Linked DNA regions of Homo sapiens: regions 2, 3 and 4 are each linked to region 1. Evidence: promoter capture Hi-C in human tissues and cell types (Jung and others, 2019). All regions are on one chromosome and are shown on one strand. Each heading gives the region's core, a stretch centred on a gene start or on the middle of the fragment in contact. The rest is flanking DNA. Distances are from core to core; before and after follow the strand shown. Region 1 holds the start of SOWAHB (sosondowah ankyrin repeat domain family member B). Region 2 overlaps SHROOM3 (shroom family member 3). Region 3 overlaps SHROOM3 (shroom family member 3). Region 4 overlaps SHROOM3 (shroom family member 3).

The links. Contacts are between HindIII fragments. The study calls those that stand out against the background at their distance.
Region 2: a fragment that was not itself captured here is called in contact with the fragment with the promoter of SOWAHB in region 1 in 1 of the 25 tissues and cell types used here (liver).
Region 3: a contact is called between a fragment that was not itself captured here and the fragment with the promoter of SOWAHB in region 1, in 1 of the 25 tissues and cell types used here (IMR-90 fibroblasts).
Region 4: a contact is called between a fragment that was not itself captured here and the fragment with the promoter of SOWAHB in region 1, in 3 of the 25 tissues and cell types used here (IMR-90 fibroblasts, aorta and dorsolateral prefrontal cortex).

Annotation. Positions count from the first base shown.
Region 1 is chr4:76,896,628-76,899,914 of GRCh38, forward strand. It overlaps SOWAHB (sosondowah ankyrin repeat domain family member B), which reads right to left and starts at 1,517. Exons shown (of 1, transcript NM_001029870.3): 1 at 1-1,517. The coding sequence starts at 1,222. RefSeq lists silencers at 868-977, 1,238-1,537, 1,608-1,677. The HindIII fragment of the contact is 8,540 bases long and covers 1-3,287 here.
Region 2 is chr4:76,672,406-76,675,692 of GRCh38, forward strand. All of the region lies in intron 2 of SHROOM3 (shroom family member 3), which reads left to right. Among named protein-coding and RNA genes, the nearest start is that of MIR548AH, 98 kb to the left of the region's middle. The HindIII fragment of the contact is 5,192 bases long and covers 1-3,287 here.
Region 3 is chr4:76,691,911-76,695,197 of GRCh38, forward strand. The region is part of intron 2 of SHROOM3 (shroom family member 3); the gene reads left to right. Among named protein-coding and RNA genes, the nearest start is that of SHROOM3-AS1, 110 kb to the right of the region's middle. The HindIII fragment of the contact is 4,768 bases long and covers 1-3,287 here.
Region 4 is chr4:76,732,149-76,735,435 of GRCh38, forward strand. The region is part of intron 4 of SHROOM3 (shroom family member 3); the gene reads left to right. All of the region lies in intron 2 of SHROOM3-AS1 (SHROOM3 antisense RNA 1), which reads right to left. Among named protein-coding and RNA genes, the nearest start is that of SHROOM3-AS1, 69 kb to the right of the region's middle. The HindIII fragment of the contact is 4,090 bases long and covers 1-3,287 here.

The sequences.
Region 1 (3,287 bases), core at 267-2,766:
TCTCCTCACTGCCATCACTCTCCTGGTCCACAAAGTCATCCAGATCTTGGAGGGACAGCTGACAACGAATGCTGCGAAAGACAGTCAATGAAGGGTTCCCCGCCCAGGATTCCCAGGACTCATCCGGAACAACAGGAAAGAGAGAGTGCGAGGAAAGACAGGGGTCTGGCGGCTCTGAATTAGGCTCCGTGGAGCCGGGTTCCAAGGGCAGCTGGAGGAAGTTGTCTGGCAGCACCGACCAGGCGCGGATAGGGCCCTGATCACGGGCCTCGGGCACCTGCGGGTGCCTGGCCACCCACTCTCGAGTGCGCTGCTGCTGCTGCTGCAGGGTCGAATAATGCAGGGAGCTGGGGGTCAGCAGCTCCGGCCGGTCTCCGCGGGGAGCGGGGCCGGGCAGGAGAGCAGGCGGGGAAGCCCTGCTTGTCGCAGCCTCGACGGTGGCGGGAGGCGAGTGAGCCACTGCAGGCACAGGCGCCGGCTCAGCTAGCGCGCCTTCTTCCCGCTCCCTGGAAGCCCCGCGGTCATCCTGGGCAGGCAGAGCCCGTGCCGGCTTCTCCTCCGCGGTGGCCGAGTGCGGGAGTGCGCCGAGCTCTCCCGGCAGTACAGCCAGGTTGTTCTGGAGGCATTCCCAGCAGCAGCGGCCCTGCGTCTTCGCCGCCGCGCAGCTCGCTCTCGCCTGGGCCCCTGCCGCTGCAGCTGCGGGCACCGGCGGCCTCTGTCCGGGACTGCCCTTCGATCCGCCGCCCTTCCCGGGCGCCCTACGGGAGTCGCTGCCCGGGAGTCCATTGCAAGCTGCGTCGGCGGCTCTGGCTGCTGCACCTGCTGGCTCCTCCTCCGGCTCCTTCTCGCGCCGCCGCCGCCTGGGCTGCTGCTGGGGCGGCTCCCCCCGGCGCGCGCCTCGCGGGGAGCAGGGCGCAGCTCCCCCTGCACTGGGGGCGGCCGCGGGCGGCTCGCGGGGTCGCTGCAGCCCCTCCTCCCCCAAAAGGTCCCTGTATCTCCTCTTGAGCACCACGTACTTGGTGCCGTCGGGGTCCTGGCGCACTGCGGCGACCGAGTTGACGAAGCCCTTGAAGAGCTCGCGGCGGTGCTGGTGCTGGCTGGGGGACGCGTCGGGGTCTCGGAGAAAGCTCTTGAAGTGGCTCAGCAAGGCAGCGTTGGTCACGCGGCCCCCAGCCTGGCACAGAAAGTCCAGTAGTGCCTCCTGGCTCAGCTCTCGGGCCATCGCTGCCTTGTCCTCCGCCCCAGAGGTGTCTGAGTCTCGCCCTCCCGGGGCTCTCCCCAGCCAGAGGAAACCCTGGCCGGGCGAGTGTCACCTGCGCCCGGGGCGGCACTAGCCGCCCCCATCAGCCGCGGAGGCCAGCGCTGCCCGCAGCCCGTGAGCGCGCCAGGAGGGCCGTGGGTCCCCTCCGGGTGGCCCCAAGGCTGAGTCCCCGCGGCAGTCTGCGTGAGAGAGGGCGGCTCCGAGGCCGCCCCTGCGCGACTCTAGCCTCTCGCAACGAGTCCTCACAGCGAAAGTTCCCGGGATAGGGCCGAGTCGGTTTCACCTGCGCCCTGGCGGCACCTCCTCCCTGCCTCTGGGGGAAGGGTCAGGCCCGCCTCCTCGTGTCCCTCCGCCCCCTGAGGTCTCCCCCACCCCCTGCCACCCATCCCAGAAGAGTCAGGCCGGAGAGCCAGCCGGTAGGTGAGGTTGGCGGCGAACCGAGCCGGCAGCGAACTGCTCTGCGGCCGGGGAAGTGGAAGGCAGGTAGGCGACCGGCCGTTCCTCTAAGTCTCCGCCACGCAGGAAACAAAAGCGATAGAAGGTCCGTTCCTGTCCTCCGGTGCTTTGATGAGTTCAGGCTGAAGCCGATGGGGGAGGAGGAGAAGCTGCAAGTTAACAGGCAATCTGAGTTATCTTTCTTTATTAACGCTGTAGAGGAGTACTTCAGATTTCTCGAGGCTGTATTGAGGTCCGCAAAACTCACTTTGCATCCAAACTAAATTTTTCTTAATATAGAAATACTTTCTGGGCCGCTTCTCCGGCGCCCCCTCCAAGGGGTCCGAATACATCCAAGTCTATACTGAAAAGAGAAATCACTCTGAAAATTACTACTGGGCAATATTGGTTTGGGACTTTTTCTTTCATACTTGTCTTTCCTTCATACTTGTCTCACATTAAGGTGCTGGAAAAAAAAAATCACTTTGATAGCTTCTTGCCCCCGGCGGCTAAAATGAACTAGGAATTATGTCTCGCCAGTTAAGGTATTTGATGTGTAGCATTAGTTTGCTTTTATTTACTCTAAAATTTGTGAACAGCAGAGATTTGTACAGTGTTTTGTATTGGCTTGGTGAAGTGCTTCCTTTCAGAATGTAAGGTTCAAAATGCAGACTAGAGCTGTCTTTAACAGCACCTTTTCCCCCTAACAGCTGGGATCCCTCTTCCTTTTTCTCTCTCCACATGTTGACCCTTCTGTCTTTGATGTGAGATCCTGGATGTCCCTCACTGTTCCTTATCAGTCCTGTTGACATGCCTGAGATAGTTTTCACTGTCATTATCTCTTTACCTGTTTTAGTTCCAAGCCTTCTCTCATTCTTTTCTTTAACTTGGCCTTCCCATTTCTTTCTGTTACACGACATCCTTGTTTACCTTCGGCCTCTACTGACAGGAAATATGTCTGTTTCTCAGATCCTCTCATGTCCACTGTATTTCCCATTCAAAAACCTCGATTTTCTCCTTCCCTGTAATTTGCCTCTCTTTTCTCATGGACTCTTCTCATCTTTTCACTTTTCCTTTTGCTCTTCTATTTCTGATTACTCATAGTTCCTATACTTCTCGCCAAGAAAGAGTATTGAAAGTATGTGTGTTGGCCCTACAATTGTTGACAAAGACATGTTTTAGCATGGACCAATCTTAGTGACTGCCCTATAGACCACATTAACTGAGCTTGATTTTAAATCCCCAAAAATACCCTAGCACTTTTCCAGGAATGAATCTTTGGTTTTACATTATCTAGGTCAGAAAAAAAGAACTGGAAACATTTTTGTCTATTTTTGGCATTTTCTAGGATCCAAACCCAATACTGGGTTGAGAGAGGGATAGTGGTTTTCACTGATGTCTCTACATAACATCAAGCCTTTAGGATAGTTTTTAAAATTAAGGTTTTGTATTAAATTTCAGCTTTCTTTTGAGTTTATTTGCTGGTATAGAGTCTTGTTGGGACTGAGTAAGGTGAGTCCATACCTAAGGCAGGAGGAACACCAAATGAAAGACTCAAGTGGGCATTTTAGAATGGCAAGTGGAAAGAATC
Region 2 (3,287 bases), core at 202-2,701, 220 kb before region 1:
TCAAATTAGGGACCAAAAAAAAAAAAAAAAAAAGAATACCGTTTCTCTCTGCTCACCAGCTTCTTTTGATAGGAACAGTAAGCTTAAACTATGTGGCAAGTTGACTTGAAACTTAGTTACTCCCCAAAGAAAAGCTACTGATATGTCACCATTTTGTAAAGGATACATGCATTTTTTTTGTTTTTTAGACCAAGTCTCGCTCTGTCACCCAGGCTAGAGTGCAGTGGCGTGATCTCAGCTCACTGCTAGCTCCGCCTCCTGGGTTCACACCATTCTCCTGCCTCAACCTCCTGAGTAGTTGGGACTACAGGCTCCCGCCACCACGCCTGGCTAATTTTTTGTATTTTTAGTAAAGACAGGGTTTCACCATGTTAGCCAGGATGGTCTCATCTCCTGACCTCGTGATCCGCCTGCCTCGGCCTCCCAAAGTGCTGGGATTACAGGGTATGGTGGCTCATGCCCGGCCGGATACATGCATTTTAATTTGGTGAAAAAATATTACTTGCATTAAGGGGATTCTGCCTCATTGCCCTTAAAAAAGTTCTCTTCCCTACAAATTTCCAAACTAAAGGGAGCATACATCAAAACAACATTTGCTGTTTGTCGCTTTGATCAAGAAACACCCATTTCAAAAATAAACTCAAAACTAGGCCAGATTTTTTGAAAAGTCCCTTCCCTAATTAAATCAGTCAATATAAACAGCTTAGCCTCCCCACTGGATAAGAAAGAAAAAGTGGGATGGGGTGAGGGTGGGTAGGTAGCCCAGGTAATAAGTAATTGAGTTGGGTTCCTTAAGCTTCTCATTTTGCCTGTCGCCATGACTGTCTTCAACGGTTAGCTCTATGAATCTCTATCAGACTTGAGTTGGAATCACACTGTGTGATTAGGGACTTAATATAGTCTTATTTGGGTCTTCAAAAGCTTCTTTTGCCATTATATATTATACCAAGGTAATTTTAAAAATAATCTTATTGGCCAATGGTTTAGAAAGAAAGATTTTTTTTTTCTGAAGAAGATCCACAGTTCTCCTCTCTGTTTCTGTAAAGTCTTATATTTTTCTGTTTTTTGTCCTTTTTGTCTACATAAAGAGAAAGGATGTTTAAGAGTAACTGCTAGGCAGCTTGCTGAGAGAAAAAAGCCAAGGGTGGAGGAGTGGGGTGGGGTTTAAATAGCAGCCAAATTGAGCAATAGTGTATTTTCCTCTTCAGAATGAATTAGGCTATTTTCTTCTTTTTCATACTTGTTCTTTACTGTGTTTTTGTTAAAAAAAATTTTAATTGTGATGAAAAATACATAACATAAAATTTACCACCTTCACCACTTATAAGCGTGCAATTCAGTAGTATTAAGTATATTCACATTGTGGTACAACAGATCTCCTGAACTTTTTCATCTTGCAAAACTGAAACTCTATATCCATTAAACAACCCCCGTGTCCCCACTTTACTGTTGTGTTTTAAAAATATTTATTTATTTGTTTATTTTGAGACAGGGTTTCACTTTGTTGCCTAAGCTAGACTGCAGTGGCGCAATCGTAGCTCACTGTAACATTGAACTCCTGGGGTCAAGTGATCCTCCTGCCTCAGACTCCCAAGTAGCTAGGATTACAGGTATGTGCCACCACACCCAACTACTTTTTTTTTCTTTTGTAGAGACAGGGGTCTTGCTATGTTGACCAGGCTGGTCTGAAACTCCTGGCCTCAAGCGATCCTCCCACCTCTACTTCCCAAAGTGCTAGGATTACAGGCATGAGCCACCATGCCCAGCCTTACTGTTGTTTGTAAATTAGAATTAAAAAGATGGACTTTTCTGATTCTGTATAATGTTTTCATCAATTCATATGTCGAAAAGTCAAAATTTTAAAGTATTTTTAATATAAGAGATACCTGTTTTCTATGAACAGTGATCCTATATTTCTATAGGTTATTTATCTTTTCTTCTCTCCTACACATTTTCAGGTAGGTGAGACAGGAACTCATTCACATCCTTGAATCTTTAGCCACCTCTCTGACTCCTCATAACGTGAGGATTGAGGCTGAGTTGTCCTCTAATAGCAGGAAGCAGAATAATCCTTTTTTCCTAGATCATATGTCAAATTTATTTTCTTCTCTCTCTTTCTCTTTCTTTCTTTCTTTCCTTCCTTCCTTCCTTTTTTTTTTTTTTTTTTTTTTGTTTTGACACAGGGTCTTGCTCCATTGCCCAGGCTGCCACAATCTCAGCTCACTGCAAACGCTGCGTCCCCAGGCTCAAGTGATCCTCCCACCTCAGCCTCCCAAGTAGCTGGGACTACAGGCACACATCACCATGCCCAGCTAATTTTTGCATTTTTTGTAGAGCCAGGGTTTCTCCATGTTGCCCAGGCTGGTCTTGAACTTCTGGGCTCAAGTGATCCGCCTGCCTCGGCCTCCCAAAGTGCTGGGATTACAGGCGTGAGCCACCACACCCGGCCATGTCAAGTTTCTAGAAGCCATTTCTTACCTTCTCCCCACTCATCCTCCCCATTCCCCCCACTCTTCAGCAACTGTGGCATACTAGTCTCTGGTCTTAGGGTTCATACCGGCTGCCAGGGGTCCTTCTTGGGTTGGCTCCAGTTTTCTGAAATCTGGCAGTTAGTTAATAAGAAAACGAGGGATATAAATAATGGGCTTAGACAGTTTCCTCTGGGTATGCTTTTAGGTTCTGTCAGATTTATTCATTCCTACACATGAGGAAGAGACCAATGTTCCCTTCAGACATGAATATGAACATAGACCAGAGATAAACAAGGTGGGGTGTGTGTAGGGAGTAGGAGGGAAGCTCAAAGTCCAGATGCGTATTAGCACCGGTGAAAACACACCCATTTATGAAGAACAGGGATCTCATGCTGGATAAGGGGACAAAAAGCAGAATTCTTAACCTGGCAACTACCATACTGACAGAAGCAGGGTTCTCACTCATTAATTCATGATATTGAAGTACCACTGGTATTTCTAAAAACAGTTTTCAAAGCATTATTTGTTTTGTGATCTCAGTAGTTTGAAAACTCCAAAGGAATGTTTATTGGAGATCTATTATCTACCATGCCTTGTACTAGACACTGTAGGTACCCAGAAGAGTAAGAAAGATGTAGTCCCTTCCCTCAAGAATCTTACTGTCTAGTTGTCAAAATCCTGGAGTATATTATAAGTAGAGGCCAGGCGCGATGGCTGATGCCCATAATCCCAGCACTCTGGAAGGCCAAGATGGGAGGATCACTTGAGGCCAGGAATTCAAGACCAGCCTAGGCAACATAGAGGCCCCATTTTTAT
Region 3 (3,287 bases), core at 287-2,786, 200 kb before region 1:
GCTGAGGTTTTGCTGGTGACTTCCAGAAGGTCAGGATTTCATGGGTTGCCGCTTCTTCTGACTTTCTGTTTGACAGAAGTATCCTGTAATTCTAACCACTGTGTGACCTCAATTGCCTTGACACCTTCCTCCCCTTCTGTAGTATCACTTGAACAGGAGCTGTTTCCTCCTGCAGGATCACTGAGAGGGGTTCACTTTCTAGGGAAGGTCATGTCAGAAAGAAGATTGGGAGGTAGAGCCTGGTGGCTGGGCAGTCTTCACCTTGCCTGAATGAGCAATGCCTCCATTTCACAGCCTTCAGCTTGTGGGATTTCTTCATGCATGTCAGAAACTAGTTTTCTTATGCTGTTGTAACACCCAAAGAAGGAATAGGGGCATGAACAATGGTCATTCATTTATTCAGCAATCATTTACTGTGTGGGAGGCATCCCAGGAACTGGCGATGGGTTCCCTGCCCTCAGGAACTCGTCTTATAAGAGGCAAAATAAAACATGTTAATAAGCTAGTGCCATTCTGAAGGTGTAGAGTACAGGGGTTAAGAAATTAAGTTTGTTGTAAAGTTAAACATACACCAACCTATGACCCAACATTTCCACGCCTAGGTATTTACCCAAGATAGGTGAAAACAAATGTCCACCAATGACTTGTACAGAATGTTCATAGCAACCTTATTTATAATGACCAATACCTGGAAACAACCCTACATCCATCAACAGGAAAATGGGTAAAGAAACAGTGGCACATCCATACAATGAATACGACTCAGCGATCAATGGGAATGAACTCTTGATACAAAAACCTGGATGAGTCTCAAGAGCACGTTAACTGAAAGCAGCCAGATACAAAATAATAATAAGCAATTCTATTCATGAAGTGCTAGAATAGGCAAAACTAATCTATGACAGAAGTCAGTGGTTGCCAGTGGGTAGGGACTGACTAGAAAGAGATAAGAAGGGATTTTCTGGAATGATGGAAATGTTTTATGTTTTGTTTTTCGTGATGGTTTCATAGGTATACACAATTATCCACACCCATCGAACTGAACACCTAAGACCTGTGCATTTTATTGTATGCAAAGCATTACCTGAATTAGAAGAAAAACTTAGGTTCTAGAGTTACACAAGAGTATACATCCCACATCTGCCTCTAGGCATATATTACCCTGGACAAGATATTAAATAAATACCTCTGAGCTGCAAGACATTGGACAATAATAGAACATCTTCATAGGGTTGTTGCAAAGATTGAGTTAATGACTGAAGGTACTTAGCTTAGTAAGAACTCAGTAAATGTCAACTACTATTTCCAGGCACTGTGATAAATATAATATGTGATTTTGGAGTTGATGAAAAAGTATTTACACTTTTGTGAAAGCCATATCATTTAAGATTATCAAGGATCTTATATTAACTGGTATCCTTATCATTATTACTATGCATACCTTCATTTTGATAAGTTTGTTTTTTTTTTTTTTTTTTTTTTTAAAGCAACAAGACAGAGTCTTGCTGTGTTGCCCAGGCTGGAGTGCAGTGGCACAATCTTGGCTCACTGCAGCCTCCACCTCCCGGGTTCAAGCGATTCTCCTGCCTCAGCCTCCCAAGTAGCTGGGACTACAGGCACATGCCACTATACCCAGCTAATTATTTTTGTATTTTTAGTAGAGACTGGGTTTCACCATGTTGGCCAGGATGGTCTCAATCTCTTGACCTCGTGATCTGCCTGCCCCAGCCTCCCAAAGTGCTGGGATTACAGGTGTGAGCCACTGCACCTGGCCCTTGATGAGTCATTTTTTAAGGTTGTGGGGATTTAAAATGTGAAGTTCTTGTGTACGTGATCAAAATACTACTGGGGTTTGGTTTTGCCAGCAGAAGTAAACTCCAAAGAGAGGAACTACGCACTAGGCAAACTCCTTTTTTTTTTTTTTTTTTTCCTGAGGACTGATCTGAGGACTGATTTAATGATGATTGTCGAAGCTGAGCTCCCAGATGAGGCTCACAACATCTTCTGGGAATCCAAATGAAAGGTTAACATACTATATTCTCTTCCCAAAGATGTAGGTAGAAAAAAAAAACAAAACTCGATCTCTCTATCAAAATTAACGTCATGCTTTTCAGTAAAATGCTTTGGACAGAGTGGTAAATTTATAATAGTTTATTTAATCTATTAAGCTTCAGTGATTTAATTTAAGTTCAACAAAGCATTTGGGAAAGATGTTATATATTTTGCCAACTCCAAGTGAGGCATTTTGTTGTTGGGTTGGTTTAATTCATTCAGTAAACATTTGTCAAACATTTACTGAGAACGCATTAGCCTCTGGGAATTCAATGATGAATAATAAGACATTGTACCCTCAAGGGTTCATAGACACTCCAGCCACAAGTGTGAATGTGTACACATTTCTTTTGGAATTTTTCTCAGAGCAGAGAGGTCTGTCTCAGGCTAGTCTTTTTGTTTGTTTTTTTTTGTGTTTTGTTGTTTGTTTTAAAAGCTCCTGCTTACAGTGGAGGTTTAAAATCCTAGTTCTTTTAATTGATGTTATTTTCTTAAACATTGGCATTTCTCATTAAGGCTTCACTTGTTATTCCTTACTAAAAATAGCAAAAACAAAATGGTCTTATATAAAGGCAATTGAGTACAGTGGAAAGGTCAGAGACTGTGCAAGTAGAATGACCTACGTTTGAATCTGAGCTCTGCTACACTAGTAATTTGGAGAGTCCTTTAAGCAGCTGTTTCCTCATCTGCAAGATGGTGATAATGATACCTTAAGAGAGGTATTAATATTTATTAGGTTAAGGCTGTTATAAGGATTAAGTGACAGAATACATGTAAATATAACTAGGCTGGCACCTGATAGGTGTTAATTCCTAACATTTATTGAGTACTTACTAGGAGTCAAGCACTGTCTAATACGTTTTGTGCTGGCTGATTTTATCTTCCTCACACTCCTATGAGGCAGGCACTGTTACTATCCCCTTTTAAAGGTGAGGAAACCAAAATCATAGGTTAAATAACTTGCTGAGGGCATGGAGGTGCCAGGGTTAGTACCCAATACCATCCTGTCAATTAATGGATGAGGTCTGTAATAGATGTCAACTATCTTTCCCTTTTAGATATGATTGTTTTATACCAATAAGTGGAACTAACTAGTGCCCTGCTTATGGCTGCATGCAGATTAATACTGGTGGTGGGGGATGGTTGACTCCTTGAATATGTTCTTAAATGGTTAATGGGTCTACCACCTTTGGGGGTTTGTGGGATGCTTGTAGGAAAGGCTCTAATGAACATGT
Region 4 (3,287 bases), core at 303-2,802, 160 kb before region 1:
GCTTATCACTTTTGGGAAATGCTTAGATAGCGCTAATGTAGCGAGGTCAGGAAAATAAGGGTCACTTAGTCCTTACATACAAAGGAGACGCAAGTGTTGGTATGTGTGTGCATGTGTGTTGGGGGGAGGAGGGGAGGCTGGAAGCTTCTGGAAGGATTACTTAATGAACAGATGGTAGCTATGCATTTGGCAAGGCCAGAACTCAGTCACAGCCCTTAATACTCATGTCTGGTCAAGTCAAGGGCCAAATCCTAGACCTCTCACTGATGAACAGTAGCTCATGGAATTGAACAGGACAAACCTCTCTCAGCATATCAGGGTAGGATTCAGGCCACAGGAAGAGATAATGTCCTGGTTCCTTCCTGGTTACAGATGCTCCTCTCCCTTGCCCATGTCCTTCCCAATCACCCTGAAAGAAATTATTCTCACCGTCTGAGCCATCTGTTCTCAGAGAGCAGGTTTCCTAGCAGTGTCTCCTGACCCTTGACAAAGCCAGACTACTTTTGCTTTACAGGCATGGAGGTGTTGAGGGCCTTTAGAAGGTAAGGTGTGTGGAGCCTAACAATGAAGGAAGAATAGCATAGTGGTAAGGGACTGGGCCTTTAAGTCAGACCTAGGTTTAAATCTCCCCTTACCCCTACGGTGTAAGCTTGAGCAAATCATTTAACCTTTGATCTTGGCTTCCTTTTCTGTAAAATAACTAGTACCTACATCATTGGATTGTTGTGAGGATTATATAAAATAGCATATGTGCAATTCTTAGTACATAGTAAGCACTCAATGAATGATGACTGATTATAATAATTAAGCTGAAGACTTCAGGACACCATGAAACCTGGTACTGAACTTGAGGGTGAATGGCCAGCACACACTTATAAATGCAGGTGGGTATGTATTAACAGAGTGCCCTTCAACAGTGGGGTCCTTTGAGCATCCTTACTCCTAACCTTCTTATGAAGCCCTAAATCCAAAGCCACACTGTGACTTAAAAAATGTGCTGGCCCTTCAGCAGAGATAAGCACTGCAATCAGTACTTAGAATGACTGCTTACAGTAACTATGGTGAGCTCCAGTAGGCCTCAGGGGAATGGGGCCGTCAGCACCAGAAGTACAGTATTTTCAAGGCTTTGCTTCTGCACCTCCTCCTTCCTCCTCTGCATCCCAGCCTCCAGAGGGGCTTAGGCAGGTGGATCTGCCCTTGTGCTGTATCTACCACTCTGTCTCTCTGATTGAAGCTTCAAAATTGTTCCTCCTGACATAAGGACCATCAGCACAAAAGCACTGCATGGGGACAAAAGGAGAAAGGAAAGTTCAAATAACTCAAAATGTTACAGGCGTGTGCATTCTCTCCTGCTGCAGCACAAACCACCCTGTGGTGCAGCACAAACAAACCATGCCTGAGGCTTGCAGCTTTGGCAGAGGGCTTGACCCCCATGCTGAGTTCCACCTGTGGGATCTGATCTTGGCAGCGGCAGGTGGAGAGGTGCCCCAGGTGTGTTTCTGAGGAGCACAGTGGCATCTAGTGGTCCAGTGTGCCACATCAGTTGGCTGGTATCTCTCTGACAGCCTTAGTTTAAGTTCCAGAAACCAATCTCAGTCCTGAATTTATGGATCTGTTTCTTGTTAAGAAGCAGGCGTAAGAGGGGGTGAGAGGATGAGGGAGAGACAGGAGTGAGGTGAGAGAGAGAGAGAAAGAGAAGTATGGAGAGACTGAAGATGTGTAATTTAACTGTGAGCTAGGTTGGATTTGGAATTTCACTGAAATTGTATTTCAGCTGCTTTCTGTCAGACCCTTGACACTCTGTTTTTGCTGCCCTATGGAAATCTCACCCAGTGGTTCTAAAGTACTAAAGTACTTTAGAAGAGACTGAAAAGTTATGTAGTCTAGCCCCCTGACAAGAGGCTGAAATAGCAGTATCAAATCAGTGATTCATTCATTCAACAAATCTGTATGAGCATCCACTATGTCTCAGATGCTTTGTAGGTATTGGGAGTACAGTGGTGAACAAGGCATAAAAAGCCCCCTGCACCACAATTATTTGTTTCCCAAAATGTGTTCCGTGGAATAACAATCCACTAGATACTTCTTAGAAAAAAAAGTTTCTGAGATCAAGTAAGTTTAGAAAACATCTCTTAGTTAAATTATATATTTCTCTTTTAGAACAACACATGAAAAATGGTTTGGGAGAACAATAGTTTATAAAAGACTCAGAAATCTTGCAGTAAATAAAATTGTTTAGCTTATTTAGCTCAATATTTTCCAAACATATTTAATCATCTAAGGAATTAGTGTTCTGTGAGCACACTTTAGGAAATGTTTTCATACACTTATTTTGTGCTCTATGTTTTAAATATTTTAAAAATACTTTTTTTTTTTTTTTTGAGATGGGTCTCACTGTGTTGCCCAGGCTGGGGTGCAGTGATGCGATCAAGGCTAACTCCAACATTGACATTCTGGGCTCAAGCGATCCTCCCGCCTCAGCCTCCCAAAGTGCTGGGATTACAGGCGTGAGCCACCGTACCTGGTAGATACCTGTGTTTAAAAGTATTTTAAACACACAAAATAGAATGATATTATAAAAATACATACATCTACCACAGAATTAAAAAGCATTTTATGTTCACTTCAGTTCTTTAAATATTATAGATACAGTCAAAGTCTCTTTCACATAACCAAAGGGATATGATATAATGTCAAGTAGTGGTAAGTGCTGTGAAGAAAATAAAGCAGGGTAACAGGCATAAAGGAGAGAAGAGATGCTCTTTAGTTAGTTCCAGGAGGTCCTCTCTGAATGAAGTAAGAGGGAGTAAGCCAGGTGAAGAGCACTCCGGGTGGTGGGAGCAGTGAGTACAAAGACTCTGAGACCCTGAGATGGGAATAAATTTCCTGGGTTTGAGTTTCAACAGGGAAACTATTATGCTGGAGTGCAGGGAGCAAGAAGAAGAGCAATAGAAAATGAGGCTGGAGAAGTAGCCAGACCATGGTAAGAACTTTGATCCACTCAAGATGCACCCCTCTTGAGAGTAAGGCTGGCTTTATGTGAGTTGGAATTGTTGCAGGATTGAAAACCTTCATTCCAAGTTTTCTTACCCATCATTAAAAGTGCCATTTTGGTGGCATCAATGGCAAAGGTAATAAAAATGAGTATTTCCAGACAGCAGTGGAAGAACTTGTCCTAGTGAGTGATATCAGTGCCTGTATTCCCCAGGCAGCTTGGGAATGGTAATTCTGAAGGGACAGAACCCTCTCCGGGCAGGAGGGAAAATACCTAACAGAGGCCTTCCATG